Regions from separate parts of the Homo sapiens genome. Here region 1 is linked to region 2. The links are contacts of gene promoters, found by promoter capture Hi-C in blood cells and fetal thymus (Javierre and others, 2016). All regions are on one chromosome and are shown on one strand. Each heading gives the region's core, a stretch centred on a gene start or on the middle of the fragment in contact. The rest is flanking DNA. Distances are from core to core; before and after follow the strand shown. Region 1 holds the start of POP1 (POP1 ribonuclease P/MRP subunit). Region 2 holds the start of VIRMA (vir like m6A methyltransferase associated).

Region 1 (6,292 bases), core at 3,537-6,036, 3.6 Mb before region 2:
GGCAGGCGAATCACTTGAGGTCAGGAGTCCGAGACCAACCTGGCCACCATGGCGAAACCCCATCTCTACTAGAAATACAAAAATTAGTTGGGTGGGCCGGGCGTGGTGGCTCACGCCTGTAATTCCAGCGCTTTGGGAGGCTGAGGCGGGCGGATCATGAGGTCAGGAGATCGAGACCATCTTGGCTAACACAGTGAAACCCCGTCTCTACTAAAAAAATACAAAAAAATTAGCCAGGCATGGTGGCGGGCGCCTGTAGTCGCAGCTACTCAGGAGGCTGAGGCAGGAGAATGGTGTGAACCCAGAAGGTGGAGCTTACAGTGAGCCCAGATCGTGCCACTGCACTCCAGCCTGGGCAACAGAGCAAGACTCCATCTCAAAAAAAAAAAAAAAATTAGTTGGGTGCAGTGGCGCGCACCTGTAGTCCCAGCTATTCGGGAGGCTGCGACAGGAGAATCGCTTGAACCCAGGAGGTGGAGGTTGCATTGAGCCGAGATGATCACACCACTGCACTCCAAGTTGGGCAATAGAGCAAGTCTCCATCTCAAAAAAAAAAAAAAAAAAAACCCGTGTAACCAATAATTTTATATAAATTAGGTACTGGGCTACTGTGGGGCTTTTCTGCACATAGCAGGCTGTCTAATATCCCTGGTCCCTGCCCAATAAATGCCAGCAATGTTAGCCCAATTATGCCAACCAAAACACCTACACAAACTTCCAAAATGCCAGCCACATCAGAATTTGCCCACTTCCACTGAGAGCCACTAAATTACCCCCCATTCACTTACTTCCTTTTCCAATGCAAGACCTCACACAAAATTAAGACTTGCCTATATGGTATAGTGTTTAAGGGCTTTCACTATGGAGTTTGAAAGATGTGGGTTCAAATTCCTTCTTTACACTTTTTAGTTACATAATCTTAGGAAAATTACTTTCTCACTTTCAGCCTCAGCCTCTTCCTCTACAAGTTGCTGTGAGAATTAAACATTATATACAGGCCAGGTGGGATGGCTTATGCCTGTAATCCCAGCACTATGGGAGGCCAAGGCGAGTGGATCACTTGAGGCCAGGAGTTCAAGACCAGCCTGGCAAACATGGTGAAATCCCATCTCTACTAAAAAATACAAAAATGAGGCCGGGAGCGGTGGTTCACGCCTGTAATCCCAGCACTTTGGAAGGCCGAGGCAGAAGGATCACAAGGTCAGGAGATCAAGACCATCCTGGCTAACACAGTGAAACCCCGTCTCTACTAAAAATACAAAAAATTAGCCGGGCGTGTTGGCGGGCGCCTGTAGTCCCAGCTACTCGGGAGGCTGAGGCAGGAGAATGGCGTGAACCCGGTAGGCGGAGCTTCCAGTGAGCCGAGATCGCGCCACTGCACTCCAGCCTGGGCGACGGAGCAAGACTCCGTCTCAAGAAAAAAAAAAAAAAATACAAAAATGAGCCACGTGTGATGGCATGCGCTTGTAATCCCAGCTGCTCGGGAGGCTGAGGCACGAGAATCCTTTGAACCCAGGAGGCGGAGATTGTGGTGAGCCGAGATCACGCCACTGCACTCCAGCCTGGGCGATAGAGTGAGACTCTGTCTCAAAATAAAAAAATGAACAAACATATACATACTGTACATGGTTTTGGCTTTGCAAAATGCATATACACAACTCACTTAGCATGGGGCTTTATGCTAACTAAATGCTCAGTTTATGGTAGCTATTATTCTTAAATAATAAATGAAATAGCAGGGATTGATGCCATTTCACTGTCTCACTCCACTAATTTCAACTAAATGAAAGACAGCTATATCTACATGCAAAAACATTTTTCAAATTAAACAGTATGAAGGAAGTAAATGGAGTTCTGCAGAACTGGCTGGCTAGTGAAGCACATGATTCAGATCGGTCTGCATTAAAAGCCATTCCAAATATTTTACAAAACAACTTAGTTAACCTACTGTTACCTGCTTGAATCAGAACTCACCAGCAAGGCTAGACAAGAACACCATAGAAACTCTAGCTCCCCTCAGTATTAGAATGGTCCAAGAAAAGGTTGGTGCTGGAGGATTAGGATAACCTTGGGAACATCCCTGAGCTTTGGGTCCAGACTAAAATATGAGGAAATCAAACTGGCAGTGGTCCTCTAACAGCAGAAGGGAATGAATATAGGATGCATCTTTATGAAGTCTGAGGATTTAATTTAAAAGTTTCCAGAGGCCTGGTGTGGTGGTTCACATCTATAATCCCAGCACTTTGGGAGGCCAAGGCGGGAGGATTGCTTGAGCTCAGGAGAAACCAACCTGAGCAACATAGTGAGAACTCATCCCTACAAAGAAATCAAAAAATAAGCTAGGCATAGTTATGAGCTTGTGGTCCCACCTACTCGGGAGGCTGAAGTGGGAAGATCGCTTGAGACAGGGAGGTCAAGGCTGCAGTGAGTGAGCCTTGATCACATTACTGCACTCCAGCCTGGGTGACAGAGCAAGACCCTGTCTCAAAAAAAAAAGTTTCCAGAAGGAATCTTAACTCTTACCTTCACCTTCAAGTCAGTTTTGTCAAACTTTAATAAGCACTAAATATGTGCTGCCTTTATAAAAATATTTTCGCCAAATCTTCAAATAAAATGGATACGTTATGTTTTCTGATACAGCTTAGTATCCTCTGGCCAGACACAACCTTTGGTGTTAGTTAGTTCCCAGTTTGAGAACCTGGGAACTAACTAGATGATGTCTATTTTCTTCCAGATCTAAAAAGTTGGTGATTCAGACTTGATATAAAATCTGTCTTAAGAATAAAGGTACCTTGTTTCACAAGAAATATTTTACACAAGTTGAATCATTTGTAATGCTCCAAAATAGCTTCTTATTTAAAAACTTAAATGGTGAATTATTTTGTAAATAAAAATATGTCTTAATTATCTAGTTTAATCAGATTTAATAAACTTTTGGGCACCTACTATGTGCCCAATAGTTTCAGGCTGTGTATAATTCCAAAGTAGAATAAGAATTTTGTCATCTTAGGCAGCATTGAGAACTTGATGTGGCAGGCACTATTCTACATGACTTATTCATTTAATTCTCACAACTCTGTGGTCACTAGTATTATTCTCATCTTATAAATGAAGAAATCGAAGCACAGAGATTTTATATACCAGTCCAAGGCTACTAAGCTTGTGATTGTGCTGAGATTCAAACCAGGCAGTCTGACTCTATCCACTATTCTTTTTTTTTTTTCCACCCCTTCCCTCTCCAATCCACTATTCTTGAAACACATAACAATTAGAAAATAGGATCTCATATAATAAAATACTAAATTATGCGGTACAGCACAATAGGAAACAGGACAAGGGAAAGAAAAAAAATGAGGCCGGGCATAATGGTTACACCTGTAATCCCTGCACTTTGGGAGGCTGAGGTGGGAGAATTGCTTGAGCCCAAGAGTTGGAGACCAGCCTGGCCAATATGAAGAAGCCCCGTCTCCACAGAAAATACAAAAATTAGCCGGGCGTGCTGGTGTGCACTTGTAATCCCAACTACTTGAGATGCTCAGGCTGGAGGATTGCTTCAGCCCAGGAGGTCAAGGTTTCAGTGAGCCAAGATCATGCCACTGTACTCCAGCCAGGGTGACAGAGTGAGATCCTGTCTTGAAAGAAAGAAAACAAAGAAAAAGAAAAGGAAAGGAAGGAAAGAAGAAAAAGAAAAAAATGTGAATTGGTAGGAAAAGTCAAAGAGAAAATAGAATTTCAGTTAGCTGGAATTTGCACAGATAAGGAAGAAAGAGTATTCAGGAATCCACAGTGTGAATACAGGAGGACTCTAGTGGGAAAAGGGAGTAGATGACAATGAAACTTGAATAGGCAAGGGGAGGCCAGACTGAAAGGTCTTTTATTCCAGGCCCCAAACCAATGAAAAAGATCAGAAGGTTCCTGAGCCGGAAGTAGGAAGGCCAAAACCTTAGCAGTATGTAGGACAAAATGAGAGGGAATAAAGCAGATTTTCTTGTATTATCTTTAGGAAGCAGGGAAGGCAGAGATTTTATTATTATTTTTTTTAACTGTTGCATTCCTCCTAGCATCTAGCAGAGTGCCTTACACAAAGTAGGGACTCATATATCTATGAGTGCCCGCATAAATGAAGAAACGAAGCGTACTTACAATGCAAATATTAACAGGATAAGAAATATTTAGCCAAGTACCACCCCTTCTGACACAGCAGAATACTTACAAGGGATCTGGGCCATTCCAGATCACCATCTTTCTTTCTGAAATGATATCCCAATCACTAGGGCTCTGTTCAGACAGTGACCTTGTAAAGCCCGAGGAGCACCCTAGAGAAGGGAACACAGGAGGAGCAGGAAAGGGAACACGGGAGGACCAACGCCCAGATCTCAGCGTGGTCGCCAGAATGACCCATATTAGTCATTTGGGGTTGCAGAAGAGGGGATGCAAGCCCATTCCCAGGACGGCCTCCACCCGGCGGGGCAATGAAGGGAAATGACTGACGTAGGGGGCTCCAGCGCAGGGGCCGAAGGAGATGCGACACCAGGGAGAGGGGCCCCGGGCACAGGCAGCAAGGAAAGAGGTCAGCGGAGTCTGAGAGAGAAACGATGAAGAGGGGAGACGGGCGCCGGGAGGGGGGCCGCCGCATACAGTTCCCCCGACACTCGCATCCTGGAAGGCACCAGCCCCTCACGACCAACCTGCCAGACGCTGTGAGGAATCCCCGGGTCAGAATGACAAGCCTCCGCGACAGTACCCACCGAGCCAAAGCTCCTGGAGAGCGCGCTGGAGAGCGCATGCGCCAGACCGGGCGCTTCCTCCACGTGGCCTGGAGCGTCGCCGAAACTACAGTTCCCAGAATGCCGCACGAGCCCGCCCCCAGCGGGAGCTGTGGGGCAGAGGCGCTGCTGTGGTTGGTCAGTCCAGTAAGAAGCCAGCAGGGCTGGTGCTGGGGCTTCTTCTCCTGAAGGGGCTGCAAGAGGGAAGGCTTAGCCATGTCGTCCTTGATCAGAAGGGTGATCAGCACCGCGAAAGCCCCAGGGGCCATTGGACCCTACAGGTAACGTGGCTGGTGGAAGCTGTGTCGGACCCAGGGCGTGCGGGTTCGGGGATTCGGGGTTGGGGCCACTCCGGGCCGGAGCCCCAGCTAACACGCAAGGAAATTGAGCCTGGAAAGTAAGCAACGCGCCCGAAGACCCACAGAGAGTTGGGAGCCACGATGGGACCAGGAACCTGCACTCCATGGGACTTTGCTCGTTCTGGGGCTGCCTCGCTGCGGAGCACAGCCTGCCAGAAAGCTCTCCCCAGTTAGAAGCCTTCAGACCCTGTGTTTTGTTTTGGGGGAGGGGGTCGTTTTTGTTTTCTTGGTAACAGCTTTATTGAGATATAATTCACGTACCGTAAGATTCACCCCCTTTAACATGTACAATTCAGTGGTTTTGACCATACTCACAGAGTTGTGCAGCCATCACCACTTTCTTCAGAACATTTTCATCACCCCAAAAATAAATCCCATCCCCATTAGCATTCACTCCCCATTCTCCTCTCCCCCGGCCCCTGACAATCTACTTGCATCTTCATGGATTTGCTTGTTGTGGACATTTCCTATAAATTGAATCATAAAACATGCAGTCCTTTATGACCAACTTCTTTCATTAGCTTCATACTTGGTCTGCCTCTCTCCCAACTGAAAAGAGCCCCATCAACAGCTCCCTCCTTTAAACCTACTGCTGTGAGAAAAGGCACTGAGATGTGGCAGAACAGGAATTATTATAGAAAACTTGGAAATAAATAAAATGCAGTAGAAGTGAGAGGGCAAGTGGGGTAGGGAGTAAAGGAGAAAAAAGACAAATTGATTTTAACTTGGGGTGGAAGAGGAAAAAGAAGATTTAGGAAGGTTCCTTGTGAGAGGTAGTCCTTTGGTTTTGAAGGTTGGTTTTGTCATTTATAGTAGTGTTGTAAAGTTTGATTTTTAAATTAATTTATTAAGGATTTCAACAGGAAGTCATTGAGTGAAGGGCATGGAGGTAGAAGTCAGGTAGAGGGAATGGCTTGAGTGAGGGCATGGAGGTAGAAGAATGCATGGTATAAAGATTTTGGGGAGAAAGTTTTCATAATTCAAGTGCTACTTCTGTCTTTTTTGTTTGTTTGTTTGCCAAATCTGTATATCACTTATAATTTACTTAACCTATTTCTTTGAGATGGCTCACTTCATTTTATTTAACAAGTTAATTGAAAAAGGAAACTTTACAACAGTACACTAAATAGAAAACAATTCAATAGAAAGTAATAGTAAAAAATAAAC
Region 2 (6,379 bases), core at 1,032-3,531:
CAAAACATGGCATGTTCTCACTATTAAGCAGGAGCTAAGCTATGAGGATGCAAACTCCTAAGAATTATATAATGGACTTTGGGGACTGGCGGCGGGGAAGGGTGGGCGAGGGAGTGAGGGATAAAAGACTACATACACATTGGATACAGTATACACTGCTCAGGTGATGGGTGCACCAAAACCTCAGAGATCACCACTAAAGAACTTTTCCATGCAACCAAACATCACCTGTTCCCTCAAAACTGTTGAAATAAAAATAAAAATGTAAAAAAAAAAAGGATATCAATGCTAAGAAAATCAGACTGTAAAAATGACAACTATAAAAGCACTATATAGTACATTGGTTAAGGGAGAGCTTAGGGGAAAATTTATATAAATACATATAGTAATAAATAAGAAATATGAATAAAAATAAACATCAGTGGTAGAAATTAGAGAACAGCATATAAGCCTAAACACAGAAGAAGGGGGGGGGCACGGTGGCTCACGCCTATAATCACAGCACTTTGGGAGGCTGAGGCAGGAGGATTGCTTGAAGCCAAGAGTTTGAGACCAGGCTGGGCAACGAAGCAAGACCCTGTTTCTAAAAAAAAAAAGAGGCAAGAATCAGAAAACAGAAAAATATTAAAAGCAATAAATATCAATGCAAGAACAAATAATAAAAGATAAACTATAGCTAGCTAATAGAGGAAACTGGATGGCTGAGGAAGGATGTGGAGAGGAGATTTACTTTAGAAATTCATTTATTATTAAATATTTCAGACATACCAGAAGGTACAAACAATAATATAAGGCATGCTTGTGAAATTAACATTAACCTAAATAACAAAACATTACCAAGGCATGTGAAGCCTTTCTGTTCTTCTCCATTACATCTCCTTCCAGTTTACCACTATCTTGAAATTTTAGTTACTCCAATACATGACTTTATAATTTCATGACATATGTACACTCCTAAAATTTTATATTCTTTTGCACGTTTTTAAATATATAGATGTTATTTTACACTATATATTTTTTATTTCCTTTTCTAAGAGATGGGTGTCCCCACTGGCCTCCAACTCCTGGGCTTAAGAGATTCTCCTGTCTCAGCTTCCCGAGAAGTTGGGACCACAGGAACACGCCACCGCACCCGGCTTGCGATGAGAGGAGTTAAACTTGTTTTGTTTTGGTTTGTGTCTTTTTTTTTTCTTTTTGTGAATAACGGGGTCTCGCTATATTGCCCAGGCAGTTCTCCAACTCCTGGGCTCAAGCGATCCTCCCGCTTCATCCTCCCTAAGTGCTGGATTACAGGCGTGAGCCAAAGCGCCCACCAACCCTGTTTTTTGGGTTTTTCATGCTAGTAAACATAGCACTGGTTCATTCTTCGTACCTGCTATATACTATTATATAAATACGCCACTATTTACTTATTACTTCTGTCAATGGCACTTATGTTTCCTGCTCTTTTGCAACTTATAAAGTTTGCTATGAATATTCTTGTATTTGTAGATACGTGGGCGAGAATTTTCCTAGAAGAGTGGTAGGCACGTGTAATTTTACAAGCTATTTCCTAGTTGCTCTGCTAAGGGTTTGTGCCATTTAGACTACCAAACCCGCTGAGTTTATCTCGTTGCTCCAAAGCTCATCAACACCCGACAGAGAGGCTTACTTTTCATTCTGCCTCCTGTTTTATTGTTCATGGTACTTCACGTTACACAATTCCTCGAATTTTATTTCAATTACTCCTCACAATCACCCTGTAGGTTAGGTACGATTTTTCACATTTTACAGATAAGAAAACAAAGAATCTCTTCGTTGGTTGAAACAACAGTTTTTCTTCTATTTAAATCAATGTCTTACTTTTCAACCTCGCTCACTGTTATCTTTTTGCTCCCAGCGCTGGAAAAAGTGGGACATCCCCTTCGGTGGGTGTACGGGGTTGGTATCCAAAGTTGGCAGCTTTCCCTCCCCCTCCTCCATCCACCGTCTCCAAAACCCCGTCTCCGCACTTCGCCACCCGGAGACCGCTGTAGCTCTGTAACGCGGAGGAACGACAGGGTTTGAACCACTGGAGACCCCGTAGTCCCCATCTCACTTCCCTCTGCCCCCCCTCTGCGTTCTAGGGGGCGCCCTCCGCCGCGCTGGAAAAGGCGGGGCCGGCAACTCCGGGCAACAAGATGCGTTGGGATAGGCCGAGGTTTGCGGCGCTAGTGCTCTGGTCACCGGAAGTCCCTCTGTTTCTCCCTCTCCTGAGTCGCTGTCGCGGAGGCTGGAGCGCTGCCCCGGAAGTCCTCCCCCCTGTTCCCCGCCCGCGGCAAACATGGCGGTGGACTCGGCGATGGAGCTGTTATTTTTAGATACTTTTAAACACCCGAGCGCTGAGGTAAGGCTTGGCGACTTGATTCTGACGCTGCTTCTTGACTTGGGATCTTTACAAAAAAACCGTTAGGCGTTCTCCACTTTTCCTTCTGCAGATTGCTTCTTTAATTTCTCGCTTACACACAGACACCCTCCCCCGAGCTGTGTGAGCATCGCGTCTGAGGGAGGGCTGCAGCAGCCCCTTCATTTCCTTGCTTTAACTTGGGCCCTCCGTGTCTTTGGTCGAGTTGGCTTTTCTGCTTGCATGGCTTTATTTTTTATTTTTCCTGTCAGGTTTGGGCCTTGAGAAGGATCAGGGTTCTCAGGTTTACCTCAGATGGCGTTTGGGAGGGGTCTTGGTTTGCCAGTAGTGTTTGACAGTAGTGCCGGAGTCTGAGCAGTTTACGTTGGCTTCGTGGTTTCCGAATCACGATGTTTCTAAATCCTTTCTCTTTGGCCTCTTTTCTGTCGGGAATTATGTTCCCCAGTTGTGACACTTACTTGGTTTAGGATTACGGTGCTCTCCGATTTGGCCTGAAACTTTAATACTTGTCTCTCGGAGAGATTTCACACATTAGGAATGAGATGCATTCACGGAGAATACTTGCGAAGAGGGGAGAGTTGAGAGAATTATAGTTAAACTCATCAGCAGACATCTCCTTTGAGGTTGGAGGTGGAATGTTGTGGAGTAATATTTCTGTACAAAACTACTTGAGCGCCCCTTAATGTACAATTGGCCCTGCAATATGTAGATTAAACATAGCTGGTTAACTAAAGATTCCTGAAAGCAGACCAAAAATGAACTTGAATGAAGTCTACGGAGAAATTGTTAAAAAAAAAAACGAACTTCACATTTTTCTGTCTTAATGTAAGCTTAATTTAGAGAACTGTTCTTTCTTTGGAGATTATTTTTTTCCTTTTATTTTTATCAAGTGTGCTCTTGTATCAAGCTTTTTGAGGACAGATATAATTTCTCTTTTTCTCAGCTGTATCTCCAGTGCCTAGGACAGTATTAGCAAAATGTAGGTGCTCAATAAATATTTGAATGGAAAATGTTTAAAATGTTCTTTCTTTTATGAGATAGTAATGATAGTGGGTAGTGATTGTATCATAATGCTTTACTTGGCAAAATAAAAAGTTGACAGCTGTGATCTAATTTAACGAATGGTTTATAGGTTTGTAAAAGTCAAAAGTTGGAGAACTTTGAGTTAGCATTTCTTACTGACAGTTAATTTATGGTCTGACATTTAATGTGGGTCAGTTAGCACTGTTTGTTCAATGACTATATCTAACATTCTAGCCGAGATTTAGAAAACCCTCAATGGAGGCAGTAGTTGGATCAGAACAAACTTATGGTGTATAGAAATAGAGAACAGTTAAAACTGAAAGAGCCTGGCGCAGTGGCTCATGCCTGTAATCTCAACGTTTTGGGAGGCGGAAGCAGAAGGATTGCTTGAGTCCAGGAGTTTGAGACCATCCTAGGCAACACAGTGCAACCCCTGTCTCTACAAAAGAAAATTAACTAGTTGTGGTGGTTTGATCTTGTTGCCCCAGCTACTCGGGAGGCTGAAGTGGAAGGATCATTTGATCCTGGGAGTTCAAGGCTGCAGTGAGCTAAGATCACACCACTGTGCTCCAGCCTGAGCAACAGAGTGAGACCCTGTCTCGAAAGGAAGAAAGAGAAAAAGGAAAAAGAGAAAGAGGCATGTGATGAATTAGTTTAGTACTATTCTAGTTTAGGAAAATTGGCCTTCATTAGTTTATCATGTATTTCTATTCTTTTATTCATTCTTAGGTAAACATTGAATACCTTGAGAGCATAGGGCAGATGGTAAATGCTTTCTTCTGGGGTGATTGGGGAAGGCTTAGCAGAGATCACATTTAAATCAAGTCTTGAAGGAGGAAGTAGGGGTTTGTGGGTGATACGAAATATTGAAATGTTTGTTTTCAAGAAGTTATAACTCAGTATTGGAGATTAGATTCACAAAATTGTGATTTGAGTTAGAATGTGATGATCACATAAAGAAGCACAGTGTGAATTCGTTGGGGTTTATCATCTTAGTTTACAAAATGCCCATCAGTATCTGACGTATTAGAACTAGCTCCCTTTGTGGGTATAAATAAAAGATACAAGATTTCAGAAGAGGCAGAGATAACTTTTCATTTGAGTGTATCAGGAAAGACTTCATCAAGGTGTTTGGCTTATGAACTTGGTCTTTGGTGAAAGGGGCAATATTTCACAGTTGTAGTTAGGAAAGGAGGGCATTCTACTGGGGTAGTCAGTCGTCTGTTAGGGTATGCTTGAAGTAGCAGTGTGAAGTGGCACCCAAGGCAATTCAAAGACAGATCATGGAGCTCCTTGAATGCTCGACAAAGAATTACAGACTTTAGGCCAGGCGCAGTGGCTCACGCCTGTAATCCCGGCACTTTGGTGAGGCTGAGGTGGGTGGATTGCCTGACGTCAGGAGTTCGACACCAGCCTGGGTAACACAGTGAAACCCCGTCTCTACTAAAATACAAAAAATTAGCTGGGCGTGGCGGTGTGCGTCTATAGTCCCAGCTACTCGGAAGGCTGAGGCAGGAGAATTGCTAGCACCCGGGAGGAGGAGGTTGCTGTGAGCCAAGATCACGCCACTGCACTCCAGCCTGTGCGACAGAGCAAGACTCTGTCTTTTAAAATAAATAAATACATAAATAAATAAAAATTATGGACTTTATTTTGTAGGAAATGGGTAGTTTTTGAGCAGGCGAATCATACAATTAGTAAGATACATTAGATAGATTACTTGATCAATAATACTTAAAATGGTTCAGAGAAGGCCAGGCGCCGTGGCTCATGCCTGTAATCCCAGCACTTTGGGAGGCCGAGGCAAGCGGATCACGAGGTCAGGAGATCGAGACCATCCTGGCTAACATGGTGAAACCCTGTCTCTACTAAAAATACAAACAAATAGCCGAGCGTGGTGGCAGGTGCCTGTAGTCCCAGCTACTCAGGAGGCTGAGGCCGGAGAATGGCGTGAACCCGGGAGGCAGAGCTTGCAGTGAGCCGAGATTGTGCCACTGCACTCCAGCCTGGGTGACAGAGCGAGACTCCGTCTCAAAAAGAAAAAAAAAAAAAATGGTTCAGAGAAAATAGAGGTGAGGTGACAAAATCAGAGAGAAAAAGTGAGATGTTATGAAAACCTGAGTTAGCCAATGGGCAGTAAGCATTGTTTAACATTTATTGAATGCTTAATTTGTGCCAGACACAGTGGGCTTTGATAACTTAAGTAAATCATCTCTGGTCCTTCCATCAGTTTTTTTTTTTTTTTTTAAGACTAGGTCTTGCTCTGTCACCCAAGCTGGAGTGCACTGGTGCGATCACAGCTCACTGCAATTTCTCCCACCAGGGCTCAATCGATCCTTCCATCTCAGCCTCCCGAGTAGCTGGGACTACAGTTGTGCACCAACACGCCTGGCTGATTTTCATATTTTTTTGTAGAGACGGTGTTTTGCCATGTTTCCCAGGCTGGTCTTGAATTCCTGAGCTCAAGCGATTCTCCCACCTCAGCCTCCCAAAGTGCGAAGATTACAGGCGTGAGCCACTGCAGGGCCCACGCTGAGTTTTCAAAGGTAGTCATCTACATTTTATAGATAAGGAAACTGAGCCTGAGAGATGAGGTGACTTTCCTAAAATAGCATAGCTAGATTAAGATCCACCATCATACATTTTTCTGGCTCTAAGGCAGTGCTATGCTGTGTCCCAGTGGAACTACGTAGGAGAGGATTTATACAAGTTTTGGATATGTACAAATTTCGAGTATAGAATTGACAGGATGGCAACTGATTATGTGAAGGAGATAGGGTAGTTAAAAATGGTAAAATTCTAGTTTTAGAGACAGGAGAACTAGTGGGACTAATGATGGTAAGAGTGTGGAAGTGAGTTTGATGGGAACGGGATAATTAGCCAGATTAATTTGCCCCATAGGAAGTTGAGAATCTGTTTAACAATTATTTATGAAAAACACTTTTGAAGGTGAGGGTATGGCTTTAGGAGGGG

The links. The method cuts DNA at HindIII sites, captures the fragments that hold promoters and counts their contacts. A CHiCAGO score of 5 or more calls a contact.
Region 1: the fragment with the promoter of POP1 here is called in contact with the fragment with the promoter of VIRMA in region 2 in 1 of 17 cell types (monocytes); the score reaches 9.4 in monocytes.

What each region holds. Positions count from the first base shown.
Region 1 is chr8:98,115,787-98,122,078 of GRCh38, reverse strand. It overlaps POP1 (POP1 ribonuclease P/MRP subunit), which reads right to left and starts at 4,786. Exons shown (of 16, transcript NM_001145860.2): 1 at 4,689-4,786. RIDA (reactive intermediate imine deaminase A) reads left to right here and starts at 4,908. Exons shown (of 6, transcript NM_005836.3): 1 at 4,908-5,047. The coding sequence starts at 4,983. RefSeq lists enhancers at 4,514-4,683, 4,754-4,803. The HindIII fragment of the contact is 6,678 bases long and covers 3,162-6,292 here.
Region 2 is chr8:94,549,371-94,555,749 of GRCh38, reverse strand. It overlaps VIRMA (vir like m6A methyltransferase associated), which reads left to right and starts at 2,281. Exons shown (of 24, transcript NM_015496.5): 1 at 2,281-2,365. The coding sequence starts at 2,303. VIRMA-DT (VIRMA divergent transcript) reads right to left here and starts at 2,037. Exons shown (of 2, transcript NR_183271.1): 1 at 1,843-2,037. RefSeq lists an enhancer at 1,968-2,587. The HindIII fragment of the contact is 4,366 bases long and covers 1-3,215 here.